Regions from separate parts of the Homo sapiens genome. Here regions 1 and 3 are each linked to region 2. Evidence: promoter capture Hi-C in 16 types of primary human blood cells and fetal thymus (Javierre and others, 2016). All regions are on one chromosome and are shown on one strand. The core of a region is centred on a gene start or on the middle of the fragment in contact, and the rest is flanking DNA. Distances in the headings are between cores, read along the strand shown. Region 1 overlaps PRG4 (proteoglycan 4). Region 2 holds the start of IVNS1ABP (influenza virus NS1A binding protein). Region 3 has its middle 7.8 kb from the start of PRG4.

Region 1 (2,866 bases), core at 13-2,512, 1.0 Mb before region 2:
GTTTAACAGACAGAGAGGTGAATTTCTGACATAACTGGATTACATGATAGAATGTGGAATAGTAATAAATGGAACAAGTTTTCTAATCCTTAAGCCTCCAATTTATTTTTTTAATGTTCCAAAGTTTTATTAAATAATTACATGTTGAGCAGGTGATATTTACCAATCTGTAAACTTCATGTAGACAGATTTGTATACCTTAGATATATAATAAATATGTGCTTATATTTTATATTTATTGATTTCTTCCTTAAATCCAAATTAAGATTTGGAAAATATGAAGTGTTATAGTGTTATATTCATTTGTTGTATCTCTACCTATTGCCATTATATTGTTAATTTTTTTATACAACACGATAAAGCTTTGTGATTATGTTTTAGCTAGTAAAAGTGTAAAATTTTAATATTTCCATGTTTTCCAATATAACTTTTAGATTGTACTTGTGTCACAAAAAGAGGGATTAATCTGCTTGTAATAATTTCCATTGAAGTTGTAGAATACCCAACAGTTTTATATCCACAATGCCTAGATATTTTTTATAATGAACTAGGGTAAGTGAATACACTAGTTTTGAATTCTTAAAAGATATATTCAATTTGATTCTTTTTTCTTTTACAGGTGTGAGCCATGCAATGGGAGGGAGAGGAGGAATAAACAGAGGAAATATTAATTAAATGGTCTGTAAACAATAACAACTGTGAATAAGATTATCAAATCTGTTTTAGTGTAATGATTGTCAAGTTTAAAAACATTTTTATATATAAACTGGTATACTCATGTCAATATTCTTTATTAATAAAATGTTTTTCAGTGTCAAAATTTATTATTCATTTCTTCATTAGTTGACTCCTCCTTTGCTCATCAGTCTAAGGACAGTTGTACCAGACTTTGGATAAGGTCTGCCCAGAACGAGTAGTAATTGCTCTTGCTGTTCTACTAGGCACATCAATGTTATAGTATTGATCTAAATGGAAGAGAAAACATTTTTTTAGTTAAAAAGAAAACAATGCCCAAACTAAAAAATAACTTATGTTGACTATTATGCTCAAAGACAATGTTTATCATTTTAATAGAGATGTTTTTACTAATTAATTTGAACTTTATAACAAAAAGAAAAACAATTGCCTAGACTTTTCAGCTTTTTTGATGTTTCAAAAGATTGACATTTCACCATCTTTTTGTAAAATCAGGTTCAGCTCTCCTTTATGAAGTAAACATTAAAGAGTAACCAAGTTTGAAAAATAATTTACTTGGGGTTATTCCTTTTAAAAAATACATGCCAATGTCATTCATATTATGAAATTACAGGCAGAATAACTTAGATTTCTGGGCATTTCAAAGAAAAGCATCCTGAGTAATATAATTTAATTAATAAAATTAGTTTCTCAGGAACTTCTTTCTGATCTTACAGACTCTGCAGTGATGCAAATCATTATAACCTTGTGCCAAACAAGGTATCTGTTAAATGCCACAAATGATAGAAGTAAAATACTATTGTCAGTAGCAAGTTTACTCTAGTAACTGGATGTTTTATCGTAATCTCATGAAGGTTAGAGCAGAATTGAATTGCAGTGCCATCATTTTAATTGAAATTAAAGCAAAAGTCTTAACTCTTTTCCACAGCAATTAGAATAAGTACCGTAGTGTAACTTCTCACATTCAGTCATCATTGCAGCCAGCATTTTTACTTTATCTTCATGTTTTCACAAATGATATCACCTCCTTGGGAAACTGTTAGTTAATACCTTACCTTTAGAAAAGGCATAGTAATCATAGCCGTCAGGTTTTCTGATGTTGGGCAGTGATATAGCTGAGGTAACCACATTTGGAAGTCCTCTCCACAGTATACTCACTTTAACTTCATTATGAAGGACACCTGTAAGTGGCATGTTTAATAAAAGATACCAGATTAAAAGGCAATGTACTATCTTGGAAAGAGCCAGACATCTGAGTTTTAATCTCAGTTTTAGCCCTCTGATGTAGAACTATTGAGGGTTATAGACTGGTATATAATGTTCTTGGTAAGAAGTACTTGATAAATAGTATTGGTTATAACTAACAAACCTGAACAAACTGCTTTACTTACCCACAAGGAAAAAGAAAGTATTGGTCTTTGGTTATTCACTAAGGCAAGTGGATGAGTTTTTCATCAGTAAGCTTAAATTATTAGGGCTGTTTGATCAGTATCCATATTTCATAAGCCTTACTGTATAAGAAACTGTATTACATCTACTTATGTTTAAGGATTTTTTTAACACAATAAAAATGTTACCTTTGTCTTGATAAGCCAGTCTGGCAGGTGAATATTGAATTCTGATGGTGTGTGTTTGAGAAGGTCCTATAGCACGTTCAAAGCGACGTCTCCTAACCTGTGTCGTTTCTCCATACACTGGATAATTTAGAGCAGGCCTTCTTCCAGGGCACTTCTGTACAGGTTCCTGTTTATAAATATACTGCTGAATGCTGCCACCTGTTATGTATTAGAATATCACATGGAAAATGAAAATTAATTTTAATACCCTCAGAAAAGGTGGAAAACAACTTTTACAATGTATAGGAAACAGTTTTGTTCTCATTTTTCATATAATATATTGATATTAATAATGGCTATTAGTCAAGGGTATTATAAAAATAATTATTAAACTGAAATACTTGTTGAATGAATAGATGCAGCAAATTACATAGTTATATATTTAATTTCAATTGAAAGTGACAAGTGCTCAGTTTGGCAGCACATATACTAAAACTGGAATGATACAGAGATTAGCATGGCCCTTGTGCAAGGATGACATGCACATTTGTGAAGCGAAAGTAAATGACATTCTATCAGTGACCTGAAAACTCAAATGAATTGTGACTTGCCTG
Region 2 (2,894 bases), core at 272-2,771:
AGACAAAACAAGAGCACAGTGTCAAATGTCAGTCTTTTTCTCCTTAAGAAAGATATAAAAAATCACTCGAATAGACATCTTAGTTCTTGTTTCCTCCTACAATTAATTGTCCGGGGGCGGGGGGACGGGGTGCGGGCGGGGCGAGGGAGACATACAAGAAATCTGTGAGAAAAAAAGGGGCGGGGGAATAAGTCTCCTTGCCTCAAGATTTTAGAAAAAAAGTTGTAAACCTATTGCAGATGAAGGCTCCCACAATTTATTTTTCCTGCTTCTATAAGCATAAATAGTTAATGATAAAAATGGTAAGAGGCATTGACAAAGAGCTCCTAGAATGTCTACAAATTAAGGTGAGTGATCAAACACAAGGTTAGGCCTAGACAGCTTAAGTGTCCTCCACAAATCAGGATAAGCGTTAACAGGACATTAACCTGGAAGCCTTTACCAAACTCTAATTTGGATATAATTTTACCTCACTAAATCCCTCACCTTCAATCAAAACTCCTTTCCCACGTGCCCTTCAGAGTCCACGAAGTTGCTGCCAGATCCCAGCTTAAATCACGTTTCGCTTTCACAGATCTCCCTCCCGGGCAAGGTGGTGGGGTGGATAATGAAGTTTGGCACCTGGTATAAAGGGCCCCAGTAGGTTAGGATAGGAACTACCACTTCTCAGGTGTGTTTTCTTTTTCCGGAAGAGGGCAAGACCAGTAGAGAACTGACTCAGCGTCTCCGACACGAGGAGAGCTGCACGCAGACAAAACAGACCCGGGGGGTGAAAAGTGGAAGTAAACTGGTGTTTGTGGCACCACTGATTTACACCTTCTCTGACTTCTCCAATATTTTTTTCCCCAAGTGACTCAATCTTCTCACCCAAACCAGGCCAAATGAGGGGTTAGTTGTTCGACTTCTTCTCAGAGTGCCTCTCTTCTTCCTCACACTCTCCACGCCTCCTCTCCGCACCCGCCACTTCCCCCCCGACCCTTAAGTTAAGGGCTCATGCCCAACTAGATCCTAATGTCCACGACGAGCAGCTCCAGTCTAGGGGGGGTTGCCTAGAAGTAGGTCTGACGCCGAGCAATCTAATCTCCCACGTCTGATCTCTCAGGCTATTGTGCCTCGAGGGGAAGTCAGAACAGGTGAGGGCGGCTTGAGGGAACCAGTTCCGGGACAGGCAACGCACAGGGCGGCGAAAGTGAGGGTGCGGGGCAAGGAACGGAGGGAGGGACAAAGGCGCGATAAGAGGAACGAGGGCGCCCCCCGAGCGCCGCCTATCTCCTCAGGATCACCTTGCGCTGACCTAGTTACACCGAGAAGGAAGGAACCCCAGTAGACCAGGGAGGAAGGCGGGGCGGGATGTGGGCGGGGCCGCGGGTGGGGCGGGGCTTAGAGTGGGATCTTTATGGAGCTCGCCTGTGATTTGCAGATGGATTCGAGACGGAAGCGGGCTGGGAGGCGTCGGCGGCGGCAGCGCACGTGGTGACGTGCGAGGGGGTGCGGCGCGAGCGGTCGGCGGCGGCGGAGGCAGTGTCTCCCGGTCGCGCGTGGAGGTCGGTCGCTCAGAGCTGCTGGGCGCAGTTTCTCCGCCTGCTGCTTCGGCGCGGCTGTATCGGCGAGCGAGCGAGTTCCCGCGAGTTCTCGGTGGCGCTCCCCCTTCCTTTCAGTCTCCACGGACTGGCCCCTCGTCCTTCTACTTGACCGCTCCCGTCTTCCGCCGCCTTCTGGCGCTTTCCGTTGGGCCGATTCCCGCCCGCTTCCTCCTGCTTCCCATCGAAGCTCTAGAAATGAATGTTTCCATCTCTTCAGAGATGAACCAGGTAATACGCGCTGGTTCTACGAACGACAGATGAGGGAGACGGCGCGGCTAGAATCCGAGAAGAAGGGATGGCGCCGGCGGATGGGAAGAGGGTGGGAGGCGCGGAAGCGGTGTCCTCATCAGGGGAGGCAGCCCCAAGCGGCCGCCGCCGCCCTCTGGGACGTGAAGCCCGCGCCGCGCTGGGCCCGCGCTCCAGCGCTGCCATGGTTGCCAAGTTGCGTTGGCGGCCGAGAGCGGGCGCCGGTCGCCTCGGAGAGCGCGGAGGCTGGAGCCCCTTTGCTACACTGGCGCGGGTGAGGCAGGCTGGGAGGAACAAGAGTTTTTTGTTCGAAGGGTTTTGGGGGGCCTGGGTTAGGGCGCCGCGGGCGGGGATGACCCGCCGGAAGGAGGGCGCGGGACTCCCCGTTCTTGCTGTCAGGAACGGACGCCTCGCCTCGGGTTTGCCTGGGGTTTGGGATTCTCTTCTGGAAGAGCTCTCGAGACTCGGCTCGTGTGGGCGGGCAGCCAGCCCCGGGCCTGGAGTAGGGTGGCACGGAGTCCCCGATCGCCGTGGGCCGCGGGGTCCTTTGTTCCCGCTCCACGTTGCCCGCTTTTCTTGCCAAGCGCGGGGAGAAGGGGGCGGGAGGAGGGAGGGAGCGGCTGCCCTGACGTGTCGGTACTGAGTGACTGCGGGGCTGGCCAATCCGGGGCGGGGGTGTGCGGGTGCTGGGGGCCTCGCCTCGCAGCCTGCGGAGTGGGCGCCGGCCTGGCTGCGCGAGGAGGAAGGCCTGGGACGCTCTTTCTTTTTTATGAAAGAAATCAGTGGCAAGATTTGCTCTTTTTCCGTCCCTCCACGCTTTTGGTTAAGTGTCTCTGATTATAAGCTCTTGATGATAGGAAGGTATCAGGCTGAGGGTTGAACCTAGGGTAACTTGAACCACTACTTGAGAACTACATTTACTTTTTCCCCCAATAGGTAGTGGACATATCTATTGGTTTGAGACAGCTGACATTTCAAGGAGAAATCAGATGTCCAAAAGGGCGCATTTTTGTGATGGAGCGTGCAGTGATGGAGCGTTAGAACACCTTGGCATCAAGCTGTTCG
Region 3 (3,067 bases), core at 38-2,537, 970 kb before region 2:
AGCTTGATACAGAAAACTCAATCAGAAGATTAAAATTCAACATTTCCTCCTTTCTTTTGGTTGATTGCTTATGAAACAAGACTCCAGAGTATCTCTATATCTCTGGTAGCTCAATAAATGTTCTTGAATGAATTAACGAATAAATGTCACTGCTAATATTAGCACTTGCTCTGCCTGTCCCTTGGACTGGGGAAAAGGGCTTTGGTATTGACAAGCACTTGGGTTCATTGTATGTGTAACTTAGACCTCAAGATTCTTGAGGGGATGGAGAGCAGACACAGCATAAACGGCTACCTATTTATCCTTTTATTTGTATTCTGCTGTTTGTGCAAAGAAAATATTTATGGGAGGGGCACTGATAGAGACCAGACCCTTTGTTCCTCCAAGTCCTCCTCAGAGTAATATAGTAGAAAGCTTTGTTCTTTACAGAGGCAAACTCAGAGTCACAGCTATGCCTTGAGGAGTCCTATACCAGGCTTTGGACAACACCTCCACAAACCATCAACATTTATTAAGTATCAGCTAGGTGCCAGACATTTATTCTGATTAAAGCAAAACAAACATAAACAAAATAAAAATAAGGATAAATTCCTTTTTTTCATGCAGCTTGTATTGTATTTTACCTTTAAAATAAATTCTTAGGAGTGGGAACATCTTCATAATTCTTGATAAATATCAACAAATTATCTTGCAGTTTAGATTGTAAATTCATCAAAGGCAAGGATATGTTGTATCCCCAGCACTTAGTAGAGGACTTGGCACATAAGTGTTTGATAATATATCAGATTGAATTTAATGAAACTGTAGGATTGCCATTAAAAATTCTTTTTCTCCTAAAAATGAATTTGGTGCTTAGAGACACATACTGCTTCTTCTTTGGGACAGCATGCATTAATAGGCACGAGACTGAACTGATGGATGTGGCCTGTGTAGGCTGAAAAACCCAGCAAGGTAAGAAACAGTGCTGGGAAACAAATGACTTCTCAGAACTGAGAAAAGTTATGATCAGCCCGCCAAAGCACTGAAAACAGGAACTGCTCTTTACTTTGATCGTTTTTTCTGTTTTTTTTTTTTTTTTTCGAGACAGAGTCTCGCTCTGTCTCCCAGGCTGGAGAGCAGTGGCGCCATCTCGGCTCACTGCAAGCTCCGCCTCCCGGGTTCAAGCCATTCTCCTGCCTCAGCCTCCCGAGTAGCTGGGACTACAGGCGCCCGCCACCACGCCCGGCTAATTTTTTGTATTTTTAGTAGAGACAGGGTTTCACCGTGTTATCCGGGATGGTCAGGAGACCTCGTGATTCGCCCGTCTAGGCCTCCCAAAGTGCTGGGATCACAGGCGTGGGTTCACCGCACCTGGCCCTCTAGTTTGTTTTTTTAATCTTAAAGCACATTGCTATAGATATGAATGCTAGCAGAAGAACACAGGAGGTCAAAGTTTAGGAGAGTAGCCAAAAACTAATTTTTTTCCCAACACCCTTTATCTCTTCCATGCTTCTTGCAGAAGAGGAATGTGGAGGCCTTAAGGAGAAGATAAATGAAAGGCCAAAAAAAATAAGTCGTGATGTAAATAGATGACACAGCTTGCACATAACCAACTATCTTATACCTGGTAGAGGCAGGCAGGAATGTCAGAAAGGAAAAAAGTAGAGTAATTTATATTGATGTAAGACTATAATTGGGATTGTCTAAGGTGTTTTGGAAATCAATTGAACTACTTTGTGGTTCTGCTTTTGGATCTAAAAAATTAGTTTAACACAGGAAAGTAAAGAAACTATGTATTACGCAATGTAATGATCTAGATAAAATGTTATTTTTTTGAAAGCAACAATTCATTTTGCCCTCATCTTGCCTTTCAAGAGAAAGACTGATTTTAGTGAAACAAGATTTTAATAATTTCTCAGTTAAGTAGAAGGTGGCCAGCACCCAGAGATTCTGCACAATAAAGAAAGGTAGCAGGAAGCAGAGGGAGGGAGTGGTGGGCTGGAAGGAAAGGAGAGAGAGGGAGGAAGGGATCTTGGATAGAATGATGGTAAGCCTGAAGAGGGAACTTAGGTAAACAGCAATGGAGATTTATTAAGATATGTGCTGTGTGGTGTGAAATATAACTCCTTTCCCTGTTCTTTACACAATCTTTAGTAAATCCTATAAATTTACAAAAGCTTTTGATTTCAATGGCTTTGTTATGGTGGTTATAGAAATTAAAAAGAAGATTCTTTTTGCTATATGCATATTGGGTCATGATTGACACTGGGCAAAACTAGAAACTACATATGGGTGACTCTAATCCTTTATCGCTAAGGATACTAAATAATGACATTACATCTTATGTGTAAAATATAGAAACAGGAATATTGTCAGAGCTGCTTTCAGAGGCTGACAGTCACAAGGAGGGTATGGGCTGAAAGTATAAGTGTCCCTAATAAATTAAGGAATAACCGGAGGTAATCAAAATGTTTGACAGTTGACAGAACATCTCTGACTGGGAAACTGACACGGAGGCCTATGGGGCAGATCCCTGCCATCTCTCCAGGGCCTCTGTCAGGTGCAATCTGTCTGGGCTGATTCTTGGTCTGTCCCATGAGGCAATTCTAGAATGCTGGGTTGAGGTATCTAAGGACAGGAGAGATAGCATTTGGTTTTTTGCTTATATTTTGCTTTGTCATTGAATAAAGCAATATTTAGGCATAATATAAAGAAAACAATTCTAACAGCAAGTGAAAGTTTTAAAATATAGGAAAGCTGTTTACAAGGGGAAAAAAGATGAAGATGGCTATTTGTTGTTCATGGATTATAGCCAGTTCTTCCTTCCTTGATGGTGATTCTTATAAGTGATGCGCTGTTATAAACTGGAATAACATCTAATGGCCGGAGTGACTCACTGATGGGAAATTAGTCAACAAAGCACAACAACTTTTAAGTAAAAGGTCAATTTCTATCTTCTGACTTGAGCCACTCTCCCTCTCCCTTTGCTCCTAGAATTTCACCTGGACATCTCTTTTCTGCTTTATTGCATCAAGGAAAGTTAGGCTCAACACTGATTTTTTCAAGCCTCTTACAGGAAGCAAACCTA

What was found. Contacts are between HindIII fragments. The CHiCAGO score rates a contact against its expected background, and 5 or more counts as called.
Region 1: a contact is called between a fragment that was not itself captured here and the fragment with the promoter of IVNS1ABP in region 2, in 2 of 17 cell types (activated CD4 T cells and total CD4 T cells). The highest score is 5.7, in activated CD4 T cells.
Region 3: a contact is called between a fragment that was not itself captured here and the fragment with the promoter of IVNS1ABP in region 2, in 1 of 17 cell types (activated CD4 T cells). The highest score is 5.3, in activated CD4 T cells.

Annotation. Positions count from the first base shown.
Region 1 is chr1:186,311,780-186,314,645 of GRCh38, reverse strand. It overlaps PRG4 (proteoglycan 4), which reads right to left. Exons shown (of 13, transcript NM_005807.6): 11 at 2,274-2,471; 12 at 1,752-1,877; 13 at 79-965. The coding sequence ends at 868. It overlaps TPR (translocated promoter region, nuclear basket protein), which reads left to right. Exons shown (of 51, transcript NM_003292.3): 50 at 1-17; 51 at 620-2,866. The coding sequence ends at 675. It also overlaps the pseudogene RNU6-1240P. Among named protein-coding and RNA genes, the nearest start is that of PRG4, 17 kb to the right of the region's middle. The HindIII fragment of the contact is 1,796 bases long and covers 365-2,160 here.
Region 2 is chr1:185,315,870-185,318,763 of GRCh38, reverse strand. IVNS1ABP (influenza virus NS1A binding protein) reads left to right here and starts at 1,521. Exons shown (of 15, transcript NM_006469.5): 1 at 1,521-1,811. CBSLR (CBS mRNA stabilizing lncRNA) reads right to left here and starts at 1,312. Exons shown (of 4, transcript XR_007066771.1): 1 at 487-1,312. RefSeq lists enhancers at 503-582, 833-932, 1,582-2,195 and silencers at 1,263-1,572, 2,033-2,092. The HindIII fragment of the contact is 11,176 bases long and covers 1-2,894 here.
Region 3 is chr1:186,286,908-186,289,974 of GRCh38, reverse strand. No RefSeq gene overlaps it. Among named protein-coding and RNA genes, the nearest start is that of PRG4, 7.8 kb to the left of the region's middle. The HindIII fragment of the contact is 1,742 bases long and covers 417-2,158 here.